5 separate regions of the Homo sapiens genome follow, and regions 1, 2, 3 and 5 are each linked to region 4. Evidence: promoter capture Hi-C in 16 types of primary human blood cells and fetal thymus (Javierre and others, 2016). All regions are on one chromosome and are shown on one strand. Each heading gives the region's core, a stretch centred on a gene start or on the middle of the fragment in contact. The rest is flanking DNA. Distances are from core to core; before and after follow the strand shown.

Evidence for each region. The method cuts DNA at HindIII sites, captures the fragments that hold promoters and counts their contacts. A CHiCAGO score of 5 or more calls a contact.
Region 1: a contact is called between a fragment that was not itself captured here and the fragment with the promoter of NCR3LG1 in region 4, in 1 of 17 cell types (naive CD4 T cells). The highest score is 5.3, in naive CD4 T cells.
Region 2: a contact is called between a fragment that was not itself captured here and the fragment with the promoter of NCR3LG1 in region 4, in 1 of 17 cell types (total CD8 T cells). The highest score is 6.8, in total CD8 T cells.
Region 3: a fragment that was not itself captured here is called in contact with the fragment with the promoter of NCR3LG1 in region 4 in 1 of 17 cell types (M2 macrophages); the score reaches 5.7 in M2 macrophages.
Region 5: a contact is called between a fragment that was not itself captured here and the fragment with the promoter of NCR3LG1 in region 4, in 1 of 17 cell types (naive CD8 T cells). The highest score is 5.6, in naive CD8 T cells.

Annotation. Positions count from the first base shown.
Region 1 is chr11:17,119,128-17,121,861 of GRCh38, reverse strand. It overlaps PIK3C2A (phosphatidylinositol-4-phosphate 3-kinase catalytic subunit type 2 alpha), which reads left to right. Exons shown (of 33, transcript NM_002645.4): 16 at 1,888-2,076; 17 at 2,549-2,642. Among named protein-coding and RNA genes, the nearest start is that of RPS13, 43 kb to the right of the region's middle. The HindIII fragment of the contact is 199 bases long and covers 1,228-1,426 here.
Region 2 is chr11:17,153,173-17,156,004 of GRCh38, reverse strand. PIK3C2A (phosphatidylinositol-4-phosphate 3-kinase catalytic subunit type 2 alpha) reads left to right here. Exons shown (of 33, transcript NM_002645.4): 3 at 376-479. Among named protein-coding and RNA genes, the nearest start is that of PIK3C2A, 53 kb to the left of the region's middle. The HindIII fragment of the contact is 1,044 bases long and covers 752-1,795 here.
Region 3 is chr11:17,512,819-17,515,600 of GRCh38, reverse strand. All of the region lies in intron 15 of USH1C (USH1 protein network component harmonin), which reads left to right. Among named protein-coding and RNA genes, the nearest start is that of USH1C, 30 kb to the left of the region's middle. The HindIII fragment of the contact is 3,309 bases long and covers 1-2,782 here.
Region 4 is chr11:17,350,413-17,353,112 of GRCh38, reverse strand. NCR3LG1 (natural killer cell cytotoxicity receptor 3 ligand 1) reads right to left here and starts at 1,313. Exons shown (of 5, transcript NM_001202439.3): 1 at 1,074-1,313. The coding sequence starts at 1,143. LOC105376576 (a long non-coding RNA gene) reads left to right here and starts at 1,247. Exons shown (of 3, transcript XR_931094.3): 1 at 1,247-1,334; 2 at 1,939-2,076; 3 at 2,202-2,300. RefSeq lists enhancers at 172-773, 774-1,375 and a silencer at 1,372-1,491. The HindIII fragment of the contact is 2,891 bases long and covers 1-2,136 here.
Region 5 is chr11:17,171,689-17,174,511 of GRCh38, reverse strand. The region is part of intron 1 of PIK3C2A (phosphatidylinositol-4-phosphate 3-kinase catalytic subunit type 2 alpha); the gene reads left to right. Among named protein-coding and RNA genes, the nearest start is that of PIK3C2A, 35 kb to the left of the region's middle. The HindIII fragment of the contact is 502 bases long and covers 1,140-1,641 here.

The sequences.
Region 1 (2,734 bases), core at 78-2,577, 230 kb after region 4:
AGAGATTTTTTTAACCGTAAGGAACTTTTTCTTATTAATAAGATTAAGACCAAGAACTCAGTAGTCAAGGAGACTAAGTAGGAACAAGCAATTTTTTTAGAAAAATACAATACTTTTAAACAATCTGAAAAGATGTTCAATTTCTCAGTAATCAGGGAAATATAAATTAATTCAAGATACCATCTAACACATCAGAGTGGCAAAAATTAAAATACCTTGTGAAAAGTGTTGATAAGGATACATAAAATGGGAATTATACTATTTGCAGAAGTATAAAAAGCTATGTCTCCTTTGGAGAGCAATTTGGCAAAATCTACAAGGTTATAATGTGTATATTCTGTCCCAGCAGTGCCATTTGCAGTTATATAAAACTCTTTTATATTTGCTTATGGAGTCAAGAATATTCATTGCAGTACTTATTTGGATTATTGAAAAACTGTTCGGAGACTGGGCGTGGTGGCTCATGCCTGTACTCTTGACACTTTGGAAGGCTGAGGTGGGAGGATTGCTTGAGCCCAGGAGTTGGAGACCAACACTGACAATATAGTGAGACCCTGTCTCTACAAAAAAATTAAAAGTAGCCAGGCACAGTGTTGTGCATCTGTAGTCCTAGCGACTCAGGAGGCTGAGGTGGGAGAATTGCTTGAGCCCAGGAGGTCAAGGCTGCAGTGATCTATGATCTCATCACTGCACTGCAGCCTGGGCAACAGAGCAATACCCTGTCTCAAAAAAGAAAAGAAAAGAAAAGAAAAGAAAAATTGATTGGAAATGTCCATCAATAGGGATTAAATTAAGGTACATTTATCTGGTAGAGAACCATGTAACTATTAAAAATGAGATTGTAGGCTGAACGTGGTGGCTCACACCTGTAATCTCAGCACTTTGGGAGGCTGAGATGGTGGCACATGCCTGTAATCCCAGCTACTTGGGAGGCTGAGGCAGGAGAATCGCTTGAACCTGGGAGGCGGAGGTTGCAGTGAGCCAAGATCGTGCCACTGCATTCCAGCCTGGGTGACAGAGCGAGACTCCATCTCAAACAAAAATAAAATAAATAAAAATGAGATTATAGCTGTATGTACTAATTTTTAAAATAGGTTAGCTGAAGAAAACCAGGAGTAGAATAGTGTATATAGTGTATTACCACGAAAATAAAGGAAAAAAGAGGATCTACATATATCCGTGTGTGTGCCTCTGTATGAATAAACTCTCTAGAAGAGCATACAAGCTTAGGTGGTTGCCTCTTAGAAGGGGAATTAGAAGGAGAGAGATTTCACTGTATACCTTTTGCAGTGTTTGAATTTTTTCATTACTCCACATGAAATGAATAAATTTCAGTGCATGTATATGTATATATATATTTATATATATATGGATGGATAGTAAAATGGTGAAATATTTCATTCACGTAAACATTTGTGATTAAGCTTAAAACAATTAGGATCTTCAAAACAAGTCCTTTTCATTTGAACTGTATAAATATGTTCCAAAATTTTATAGTAGTATTTTTTTTTTCATAGCATTTGATTTTATTTGTACGAAATGGATGAAATCCTTGCTATCTCTTAGGGTGGGATCTGCTTTTTCAACTCTGATTTCTAGTGCCTGGCATCTAGTTAGAGCTCAATAAATTTTTATTATACTGAATTATCCTTCATTTTCCTAACTAAGCATCTTTTATCAAGACATAATCATTCCTTTCAGTTCCCGGATTAGCATTAATTACTGGCATTTGCCATACATTGCATTTTTCTATTCCAAATTAGTATTAATGATTTTATGAAGAAGTAGCTGTCCCAAATAAATAAATTTCTTCTTTGTATTTTTAATCATTGAGATTATATCATTATGTTATCACTGAGAAGTAATTTAATTCTATTATATATGCAGACTTTCTAAAGAAGATAAAGCTTTTTTATGGGAGAAACGTTATTATTGCTTCAAACACCCAAATTGTCTTCCTAAAATATTAGCAAGCGCCCCAAACTGGAAATGGGTTAATCTTGCCAAAACTTACTCATTGCTTCACCAGTGGCCTGCATTGTACCCACTAATTGCATTGGAACTTCTTGATTCAAAGTAAGTCAAATACATTTATTTGCTCTTGTTTTATTGTCAGTTTTTCCAGTAAGGTATGTTGCCAGAAGTATTTCCTTTCCTTTTAACATGAAAGCAATTCAATATAATCCAAATGTGTAAATGTATATTTATACAAACATATCTTCTGCATTGAAGTTGTCAATAAAGCATTGCATGTCCTTTAAAACTAGCCTAAAGGAAGGGTTAGGTTGTAAATTTTGAATAATTTATATTTTTATGATGTGGGCCAGAATTAATTTTCATAAACTTAAGATTCCTAAATAATCCCTAAATTGAATCTGTATAGCACAATAAGATTGTCTTCTTACAAAAAGAAGAAATACATTGCTTTTGAATAAAAGAGATATCTTAGTGTTCTTTGTCAGGACCAGATTGAGATTGTGTTTTCAAAAAATACAGCTTCACTGGAAAGAAATCACTGTCCAATCTTGGTTTTATGGTAATCTTCTAGATTTGCTGATCAGGAAGTAAGATCCCTAGCTGTGACCTGGATTGAGGCCATTAGTGATGATGAGCTAACAGATCTTCTTCCACAGTTTGTACAAGTGAGTTTTTTACTAGATTACCTCCCTTTATACTTTCACTCTAGTTTTTTATGGGAACTTGCTAAGGGATCCCCATTCTGTTTAGATTAAAA
Region 2 (2,832 bases), core at 24-2,523, 200 kb after region 4:
AGAAGAGTCCCAAATGGGCTTGATCTCTTCATATTCTTAAAACAGAGAGTCCTTTAATTTCATTTAGTTGTAAAATTTCTAAAGTGTCTATTTTAGGAATATTTTGAATGGAAAGGTCTTTAGCATTCCATTCTTACTGACCGGTATAGCCTGTTTCTACTATTGAGCAAGTAAAACCAAGGAACGAAAATAAGGCTTAGTTGACATTACTTTTACAAAGATAGAAATATATAATTTAAAAATTTGTTATTGATATGATTTATTTTACCTCCATTGCTTTGTACATATTTTCATAAAAATGTGTTTGTGCTGTGCTGCTATGTAGCATTTTGTGGATCTTCCACTTTTAAAATAAAAACACTTTTTTAATTACAGAAAGACCCAAATGGGACCAGTAGTTTGCCAACTGGAAGTTCTCTTCTTCAAGAAGTTGAAGTACAGAATGAGGAGATGGCAGCTTTTTGTCGATCCATTACAAAGTAAGGAATTTTTCTTTATAAATGTTCATTTGAAAAATTCACTTGAAAACCAGTTTAGTGCTAATAATTCTAAAATTTTAAAAATTTTAATTATTTTCTTCTTGTGGCTAACATTTCAAGTCAAAGAGTTAATTGGCACGTTATCACAAACCACAGTTGAACTTGTATCTTCACCTGTTAGATTTCTTAATATTTGGAAGAAAAAATTGAGGTCAGACAGTAGACTTCTGATACTGTAATAACCAGTGAAAAATATGACTTACCTGTAAGCTTCAGTACACTTAAAAAATACCTACTTTTGTTTTAGAGAGACTTAATTTTGCTGTAAACTTTCTAGCATTCAAAATACTGTTCAACATATTTAAGAGATGATATTATAATAGGCAAGTTTAGAAGAGCAAATATATTTTCTGAAGTTTAGAAAAACACATTTATAGAATGTTCTCTCAATCTTAAATGTGTCTAACATTCATTATAGGTGAGGAAACTGAGACTCAGAGAAGTAACCTAACAAACTTTACTTGGCTAGTCAGTAATATCAGTAGTAGAACCAACTCTCTTTTGCTTCTGGTTAAGCATGTTTTCTTCCCATTATATCACTATATTAGTTGTGACTTCTGTTACGAGTGCTAGAAACCCATCTTGAACTTAAAAAGGGTCATGTATTGGTTCACAACCCAAATAGCAGATAGAGGAAGGATGGGATAGAGTTCATTAACAGCAAGATTCAGGAATTCATTACTATAAATCATCCCCCCTTCCTTCAATTCTCCTTGTCCACTCCATTTCCTTTCCTTCACCTTCCTCACTTTTCTTCCTCTGCCTTTCCTCCATGCAATTTAATGGTCTCAGTAGCAGAGAAGAAAAAGGAGTCCCCTTAGCTAGCCAGATAGGAAACACCCATAGGAGGAAAGAGTGGAACAACAGTCCTTGTGGCCAAGAGGATGAGAGATCTGTTATCTAAAAAAGGGAAGTAGATCACCACTGGGAGATTTTTTTCTGAATCCAGCATTGTCTTCAGTGTGGTCTGCTTTAAGCATAGCAGGATTTGGGGTTCCCAGAACATTTTTGAGTATGTACATTATTTTAATGTTAAAGAACTTAATATTTAATGAGATTTTCTGGACCATTGGTGATATTTTATTAAAACTCTGTCTTCCTTTATGTTACCTTTTAACCAGCATTTCTTTTCTTCAGAATACCTTAGGAAAAAAATATTATCAGTAGAGTCACTTTTTCTTGGCAAAGGTTACTCTCCCCAGACAGGCCTTGTATTTTCCTGTTAGGCCATGTTAAGTAACTACTACATTTAAGCTTTGCAAGTTGAGAAGTTAGGCTCTCTGAGACCTACCTTTTTTCTCCCATTTGAATCTTAGAGCTATTTATACAAACTCTGCCACTAATTGAAAATGATTGTTTTTGTTTACACACACACACACACGCACACACTTAAATGTGATACGAAACTGCAAATGGACTAAAGAGAGAATGAGTTCTCTTTGTAATTTTATTTTCATTAGTAGACTATGACTGCAACAAATACTAGAGCAGTAAGAAGTACTGGTGTTTTTGAAGGCATGTTCTAGGAACTTCCCCTGTGGTGACCATGGAGATTGAGATGAGGAGATGTACTTTGAAATTAGTGGCTCTGTTTTTTCCATTGTGCTCATTTTGCAGTGGATTTTTAAAACAAGTATGTAGGCTTTTAATTAGAGAGCCAGTTCTTTGCTTTTTGAGATCTCCTAAAATTATTCATTTATTCATTTAAATTCAGCTGTGAAATTAGTGTCAGGCTGTCAGAATGATATTTGTTTATAGTTAAGATAAAATACAAAACAGACTTGGAATTTATTACCAGTTCTAGGTATTGGTTTTTGTTGTTGTTTCTCATCTGTGAAATTAAAGAGTTGGACTAGTGATTTCAAAGATCTCTTTCAGTTTAAGATTCTGTAATACATTGATTCAGGACTACTTTTCATTATTACTGAGTTTTTTGTCCTATTTCTTTCCTTTTACACCTATCATAATTGACAAAGCTTGCTATATCTACTAGTTACAGGTGCTGAAAAGGTTCTTTTTTTTTTTTTTTGAAATGGAGTTTTCACTCTTGTTGCCCAGGGTGGAATGCAGTGGTGCGATCTCAGTTCACTGCAACCTTTGCCTTCCAGGTTCAAGCGATTCTCCTGCCTCAGCCTCCTTAGTAGCTAGGACTGTAGGCATGTGCCACCATGCTCAGCTAATTTTTTTTGTATTTTTAGTAGAAACGAGGTTTCACTACATTGGCCAAGCTGGTCTTGAACTCCTGACCTCAGGTGATCTGCCCACCTCGGCCTCCCAAAGTGCTGGCATTACA
Region 3 (2,782 bases), core at 102-2,601, 160 kb before region 4:
TTAATATCTATAATTGGACATTCGAGATGACTTGGTATTTGGAGGTCAGGCAGCAGCATAAATCTGGGTGAGCTAAATTGGATGTTATCACTTGACCAGCGCTTTCTGGCAAGATGTCAGTCCCCCAGAAACCAGAGCACTGGCAGCTGAGTGACCTTGATGATATATAATTCTCCCTGCCTGTAAAATGGGAATATTAACTGTGCCAGGAAAATCTACCCCCTTCCTCCAGCACATTGCTATTAAAATAACAAACAGTAATATTTTTCCTGACAGAGGTTAATGCCTTTATCTAGGAACATCTATCAGGATTTGTATAGCATTGAATAAACTTGGAACAGAGTTCCTCTGGGAATTCCTTCACACATTGTCCTGGTCTCAGAAAGGCCTTGGTCTCATAAGACTATCTGTTTCCCTTGACAGGCTGACTTTGGTGGCTTAGGATGCCTCATTGGGTTAGATTTCTAATTCTTCTCTATATTCTGCCTCTACTAGAACTCAGCTAGAGAGGACAAAACACACACACACACACACAAGCACACACACACATGCACACATAGGATTTTACTTGAAAAAAATAATAAAGGAGACAGATATGTCAAATCTTTTTCAGGCACTAATAACATGTAAATGTAAAAGAACTAGAATCTTCTCCACATACCACCTCCCATCAGAAATCATGTCCTTGAAAGTGCTGTTGATAAAGAAATAGGGTTGCCTTTCCCCTATTCCTTAATCTAATTATTCCAGAAACAGCTGTCATTTTGGTTTTCATTTTCACTTCAAAAAAAAAAAAAAAAAAAGAATTGCTTCTGGGTAGAATCAATAGCACAATCGCCCCATCTGCCTCACCTCTCAGTCTGGACCAAAAGGAATATTGTAACTGACAGGCCATGGATGTAACTGACAGCTGAAAGGACAACAGAACCATGCCCCTCATACTGGCTCTGAAAACCCGTCATCATTTTTTCTAGAGCCGTGAGAGACTCTTTGTCTCCCAGCAGCTGGAACGCCAAGTCTCCAGGAAATGCAAGTGGGTATCCATGGCCATGATATCTGTGCATAAATTCCCCTTATTTAAAAATATAAAGATTCAGCTCATGTCTATAATGCCAGCACTGTGGGAGGCCAAGACAGGCGAATCACGTGAGGTTGGGAGTTCAAGACCAGCCTGGCCAACAGGGTGAAACCCTGTCTCTATTAAAAATTCAAAAATTAGCTGGGTGTGGTGGCGCATGCCTGTAATCCCAGCTACTTGGGAGGCTGAGGCAGGAGAATCACTTGAACCCTAGAGGCAGAGGCTGCAGTGAGCCGAGATTGCACCACTGCACTCCAGCCTGGGTGACAGAGCAGGACCCTGTCTCAAGAAAATAATAATAATAATATAAAGATTCAGTGTCTTCTATTTCCACCTTGGCAGTAAATCCCTCTGGGGCTCAAGGTTCCCAGGCCTTTGGCCCCACAGAATTTGTGCCAGGGCATGAAGGATTCATGATTCTGACTAAGCCCTTTCATCAGAATTGCTTGAGTCACTCACACAGACCAGCCCTACTTGCAGGAGCCCACCGTCTGGCAGGGAAGGCAGATTCACACACAGCTAAGTAACCTGTGTGGGGCCAGTCTGAGATCAGTGGGAAATGCCATGGGGCAACTTGCCCTCTGCATCTGTACAGATATGACTTTCTTGGGCATGAGACAGAAACTGTCTACTACCCCACCCAGAAGCCCTGACTCTATAATCTTAGCACTGGTAGTTTTTTTTTTCTTTCTTTCTTTCTTTTTTTAAGCAACAGAATGGCCATTATTCTCGTGGTGGTCCTGGAGGAGGCCAGGCTCTTACTCTAGCAAGCTACCATTAGGCAGTGTTTCTGGCTCCTCTTGGGAAATTGCTGTCTGAATCTCTACTACGATGGCAGGGATTCATCTATCAACTGAGTCTAGTGAACAAGGTAGGCAAGGAACCAAGCAGGACTCTGAAGCAGTGAGAACCATTTTCTCGAGAGGCTCATACACTGCTCTGGAGGTGGGTCCCAGAGGTGACCATTTCCAGAGCACATTAGCAGTACACAGAGGTGTGTGTCTTTAGGAGAGGAGCTAGGAAGAGTCCCTCAGAGGTCCATAATGGCCCACCAAGTCCCTCCAGCTGTGGATGAATGTTGTGTGTCCATTGCTAGGGAGCTCAATTCCTTATTCCTGGCCTTGGATACTAAGATGATTCAGAAAATTCAAGAGCAGATCCCCAGAAGGCTTGTTGGGGGCGGGGGTGAGCTCAGTGAACAGGGGGTTTCCTCCTTGCCCCAGAAATTGCCCAGGGTGTGGGCTGTCTCTGCTGCCCCTCTCCTGAATGCTCGCTCTGTCCTCCACGCTGTGTGTGATAGGGGCTGACCCTCCCTCCTGCCGTGTTTCCCTTGCCCCCAGCTCATCAGGGCACCATAGAAAAACTAGGACCTCGAAGACTCAGGTCCAAATCCTGGTACTATCAGTTACAAGATGTCTGACATTGAACAAGGGACTTTACCTCTCTGAGCCTCAGCTCCTTCATCAAAGAATGAGGATAAACCTACATAGGAGATCATTGGTATAAATCCCTTGGCACATAGGCAGTTCATAAATGATCATTCTCTTCCTGCCTTAGCCCCTGGCTTCCCTGCAACCCCATGAGAGAAGCAGCCAGGAATGCAGGCTCGGTGGGTCTAATTCCTACAGGAAAAATAAGGAGTCTATTTGCCTTTCATGTCCCTCCCCAAATCCTCTAGAACCCTGATGGTGAGTGTAAAGCAGT
Region 4 (2,700 bases), core at 64-2,563:
AAGCAGCAAGGGCGTGGTGTGAAGCTGCCGCCAAGGTCTCCACGGTGAGGTCCACACGCGGCTCTCCTCCACCTGCAGTGACTCGGGGCGCCCAGAGCGCGCCTCCGGGATTCCTACATTCCACCTCCACCACCCGGCACCCAGGAGCGTATTTTGGCCAGCCTAGTAAGGGTCAAGCAGCATCTTGTTGTTTAATTGCCATTCTTCTAGTTAGAAATGAGTTTAAATATCTCTACATACGCGTTTCAGCCTTTTAGTCTCCTGTTTAAGTTAACGCAGAACACGCCCATACGAGTTCCCAAAAAAGCAAGAGAACGTTTGAAGGTCACCACAAGATCAAAACACTCCCCTCCCTCTCTCAGTAAAGACCTAACTTAGCAAAGCCAGGAGGACCCACTGATATGCGGATGAATGATTTTTCCAATTTACCGATTCCCTGATTTTCTTCTCTCCTCCGGCCCCTCGGATGATGCGAGAGAGGCGCCAAATACCGAGGCACCAAACGCGCGACATCCAAGGAAGCACCGTTTCCGCTCTCACAGGTGTCGACCCTGCACAGGGCAGGCCTTCAATGTAAACCTGTTGCATCGGGGACTCCGCTTCTCACAAAGGAGGGACGCTTGAAAATAGAGCCCCCAGGCCGGGCGCGGGGGCTCACGCCTGTAATCCCCGCACTTTGGGAGGCCGAGGCGGCTGGATCACTAGGTCAAGGAGACCATCTTGGCTAACACTGTGAAACCCCGTCTCTACTAAAAGTACAAAAAATTAGCCGGGCATGGTGGCGGGCGCCTGTGGTCCCAGCTACTCGGGAGTCTGAGGCAGGAGAATGGCGTGAACCTGGGAGGCGGAGCTTGCAGTGAGCCGAGATCGCGCCACTTCACTCCAGCCTGGGAGACAGAGCGAGACTCCGTCTCAAAAAAAAAAAAAAAAAAAAAGGAGAAGAAATAGAAAAGAAAATAGAGCTCTCAGCCCCCAGGAAGTTGAGGTCCCCTGGCGGGATGCTAGGGAGCCGACCCGCGAGGACCCTCTGGCGCCAGGAGCCCCCGCCCCAGCCCACCCCAGCCGCCCCCTACCTTCGGTCGTCAGCGCCCACAGCAGAATCAGGAGCGCCGCGCACGTGGAGGCGGCAGCCCTCCACGTCATCGCCGCGGCTGCTGTTGTGTAATTTTTTTCGCCGAGTGGGAGCAGGCGGCCCGGTAGAAACCAAGGGCAGGGGGAGACCTCTGTTGCGTAAAGAGTTGACGGAGACACAGCCGGGATTTCCAGCCGGCGCTTTTGCACATCCCACTTCTTCAGATCCCTTCGGCAACTGCGAAGTCGCCTGGATTTCCCAGGTTCGCACTGCAGGAAGCCAGGCGCGTGACCAGCCCCACCCGCGCCGCACTTTAGCCCGGGGGCGGGCACCGGCCGGGGAATCCTCCCTCGCCTCCGCCCGCGGCACGAGGTTGCGCGGTTACAGCCCCGGTGCCTCTCGCGAGCGGCTCTGCGGTCCAGGACTCGGGGCATCCTCTGGGTTCGCTTAGTAAATTGAGACCGGGATCCAAGTGGCCCGGGGCGCTGCTCTAAGGAAGATGCTGACCGCAGTCGGTGATTGCGAGAGCAGGTGCACGCGTCCAGAGCGACATCTTACCGTTGGCGCGATAAACTTACATTACTTTAAAAACCAAAAACAACAAAAATTTAGCATTAAGTCGAAAGGCAAATTAAATCCCCAGGACAATTCAGTTAAACGCCTGAAGGTGGCCCTTAATTTCCCATTTCTACTAATCAAGAAGTGGCTTGCGACCTCCTGAAGCAAACCCAAATATTCTCATTCGGTGATTAAGTTTTACCACCTCTACACCAGTTTTTAAATCAATTTAACCGCAAAGTTCAGAACCCAAGTGGCACAGTAAATGTGTGTGCATTTATAACGCAGAACCTGCATTCTTTCCCCAGCAACCTGCATTCCATTTGTCTCATTGACCCTACTGCATTTTTCCTTCGCATCATTAAAAAGGATGTAATGTACAGAAAAGCACAGACAGACCTAAACTCCAATGCCAACCATGCCATCTGCTGATTATAAGACAGTGGGTAAGTGACCTCATATCCCCAGCCTGTTCACATGTCTCTAAAACTGAGAGAGTAAAAGCTTCCTTTCCAGGGTTAGAGACACTGTCACTGACTAAGCAAATAGTCACATTCTCACTTATCTGCAGAACAGAGTGCATACAGAAAGAGCTCAGAAGTGAAAGATGCGCAGAGTGCCCACAGTGGCAGCAACTAGCTGAGGGGCCTTCAGATCGCAGCCTTCCGGACCACCGTTATAACAGGTAGAGATATGCAAGGTTAAGTCCAGCTATTGAATTTTTAAAACCTAAATTACACCTCTTCTCAACCTCTGCCTCCTCCAAGGAGCCTTACCTGAGGAGACATCCTTGTCTGGTATTAGTGACATCATTAAATAACATTCCCAATGGAGGTATATGACGACTTCTTATACATGCCCAGAATAGTGATTCACAAAGTTGTGACACATACACATCACCCTGTAGAAATTATCAAATTACTCTTTTGGTAATTTTTACTGTTTTGGTAATTTTTTTGTACCCTTTTTACTCTAAAGGGTAAAACCGGCAGGTTTCTCTATTTATATTTCATTAGAATGAAAAGTCATTACCTGTGTTTTCGTTTTTACCAATATCATGTCTATTTGAA
Region 5 (2,823 bases), core at 141-2,640, 180 kb after region 4:
CGCCATTCTCCTGCCTCAGCCTCCCAAGTAGCTGGGACTACAGGCGCCCGCCACTACGCCCGGCTAATTTTTTTGTATTTTTTTTTTTAGTAGAGACGGGGTTTCACCGTTTTAGCCAGGATGGTCTCGATCTCCTGACCTCGTGATCCGCCCGCCTCGGCCTCCCAAAGTGCTGGGATTACAGGCGTGAGCCACCGCGCCCGGCCGCTGTTTTGTTTTAATACATCTAATTTTGTGAAAAATAGGCAGTATACTTTGGTGTTCCACAATAGGTGATTACACTTGATTTATTTTTCCTACCATATATCCATACTCTTGTGCCATTAGAAATGCCTTCTTTAAGACTGTCCAATAGCCCTCACTCCCTCTTGTTAAAACACATGTTCAGCCAGGTGAGGTGGTTCACGCCTGTAATCCCAGCACTTTGGGAGGCCGAGGCAGGTGGATCACTTGAGGTCAGGAGTTCAAGACCAGCCTGGCCAACATGGCAAAACGCTATTAGTCTCTACTAAACTTTTTGGTCTCTACTAAAAATACAAAAATTAGCCGGGTGTGGTGGCGAGCGCCTGTAATCCCAGCTACTCGGGAGGCTGAGGCAGGAGAATCGCTTGAACCCAGGAGGCAGAGGTTGCAGTGAGCCGAGACTGTGCCACTGCACTCCAGTCTGAGCAACAGAATGAGACTCTGTCTAAACAAACAAACAAACAAACAAACCCCACGTGTTCAGTAAATTAAGTTTCTTATTCATTAAGCAAGGTACTTTTAAATGTTGTGGGGAACTCCAAAAATAAACAAGTAGGCCTTTGCACTTAAGCTTATTTTAGTCTGTTGGGTAGACACATAGGTTCACAGATTCTGTGTTAATCAGGACATTTTTTGTTATGGCAGAAACTCATTTTAAACTGGCTTAAGCAAAAAGGGAGACTTACTGGCCTGCATAAATGAAAGGTTGGCTTTGGGCTTAGTTGGATCCAGATGCCAGTGTAATATTAGCCAGAATCTGTCTTTCTTCGTTTTATCTTAGCTCTGCTTTCTTCTGGATTGGATTCATTTTTAGGCATTATCTCCTCAAGTGGTGACAAAGACGGCCACAGCAGGGCCAGGCTTATATCTGAGTTTAGTAAGCTCAAAGAAAAGCTTTCTTTCCAAATAGTTTCAGCAGAAGTCCAGGAGTTAACTCTGATGGGCCATATTTGGATCCTCTGGAGTGGATGGGAATGGGGGACAAGGGTAGAAATGGCCAGTTCTATTTTAATTAACTATGTGGGATAAAGGGAGATCAGTCTCCAAAATGGAAGCCGTAGGTTCTGCAACCAGAAGCAAAGATGTTGATAGGCAAAAACAGCAAAAGGTCTACAGAAGTGAAGAAGAGAAAGCTGTGATAAAAATGTTTTGGTTGATCTAAAAAGATGAATTCTGATAAGAGCTGCTTAGGGAAGGCTAAAGAGAGGAGACAGTATTTGAATTGGGCCCTGAAGGACAAGTAGAGTTTTTCCAAGGCAGAATGTGTAAAGAAAAGATTCTGTAGGTCCCTCATTGGAGAAGTTTGACAGTGAAAAAAGAAAATTAAAATGGAAGCTACTGGAATCTAAACGGGAATGTTAAGATTTCCCCCCCTTCAATATGGAGAAGACTTAAGCTTTTTTGTGGCACAGGACCCTAAGCAAGTAAATAAGTTAACAATGCAAAGGAGGTAATCACCGATGATGAAGTGGAGGGTAATCATTGATGATGAAGTGGAGGGGAAAATACATTTATGTTTAGAAATCTAAGGTTAAGGATACACATGGAGGAAGTCGCCTTAGAAAGGAAAAGAAAACCGTTTGTTCCCTGAGGATAAGTGAAGGAAGGTGGTGGTGGAAGTTAAAACAGAAGTTTGTTGCTAAATAGTAAAAATGGCTTGCGCTTTGTTTTCTAAAACTAATAAGAAAAAGTTTATCAGTTATCTATTGCTATGTAACAGAATCATTCCAAAATGATTCTGTGGGTTATCAATTTGGCTTTAGCTCAGCTTGGTGATTTCTTCTGCTGGTCTCACCTTCAGTCACTCATGGAGTTGTGGTCATCTGGAGTGTGGATGGATGGTCTAAGATGGTGGCTTCACTCACATGTTTGGTGGTTGGTGCTGGCTGTTAGCTGGCCCCTCTCATCCTCAGTGAGCATTCACATAGCAGTGGCTGCATTTCAAGAGACAAAGAACTGAGGTAGTAAAGCCTCTTAGGACCTAGATTTGGAACTCCTATTCCCACAGTGTCACTTCCATTTCATTGGTAAAAGCCAAGTCATAAGGCCCGCTTAGCTCAAGAGAGTAAAGAAATAGATCCCTCCTCTTTATGAGAGGAACAAGAAAATCACATCCCAAGTAGTGGGAGTATGTGTTGAAATGGGAGGAATTTGTGCTCCTCCTATTCCCTACTATCCAGCCTTTTATTTTGAAAATTTTCAGTCTTGGCAACCAAGTTAAAAGAATTTCAAAGTGAATACTCATATTTGTATCACCTAGATTCTACTATTAACATTTTTCTATACCTGTCTAATCACATATTTATCCATCTATCCTGCTATCCATTAGTTTACCTTTTAAAAAAAATGCATTTCAAAGTAAATTGTAAGAGCCAGGCACAGTGGATCATGCCTGTAATCCCAGCTGAGGCAGGAGGCTTGCTTGAGGCCAGGAGTTCAAGACCAGCCTGGGTAACATAATGAGACCTCCCCCATCTCTAAACGACAAGAACAACAAAGTAAATTGTAGACATTAGTACTTTCCTCTAAGTGCTTTGTGCATATGTAGCAAGAGTTCCATATTTACAGCTTTTTCTTTTG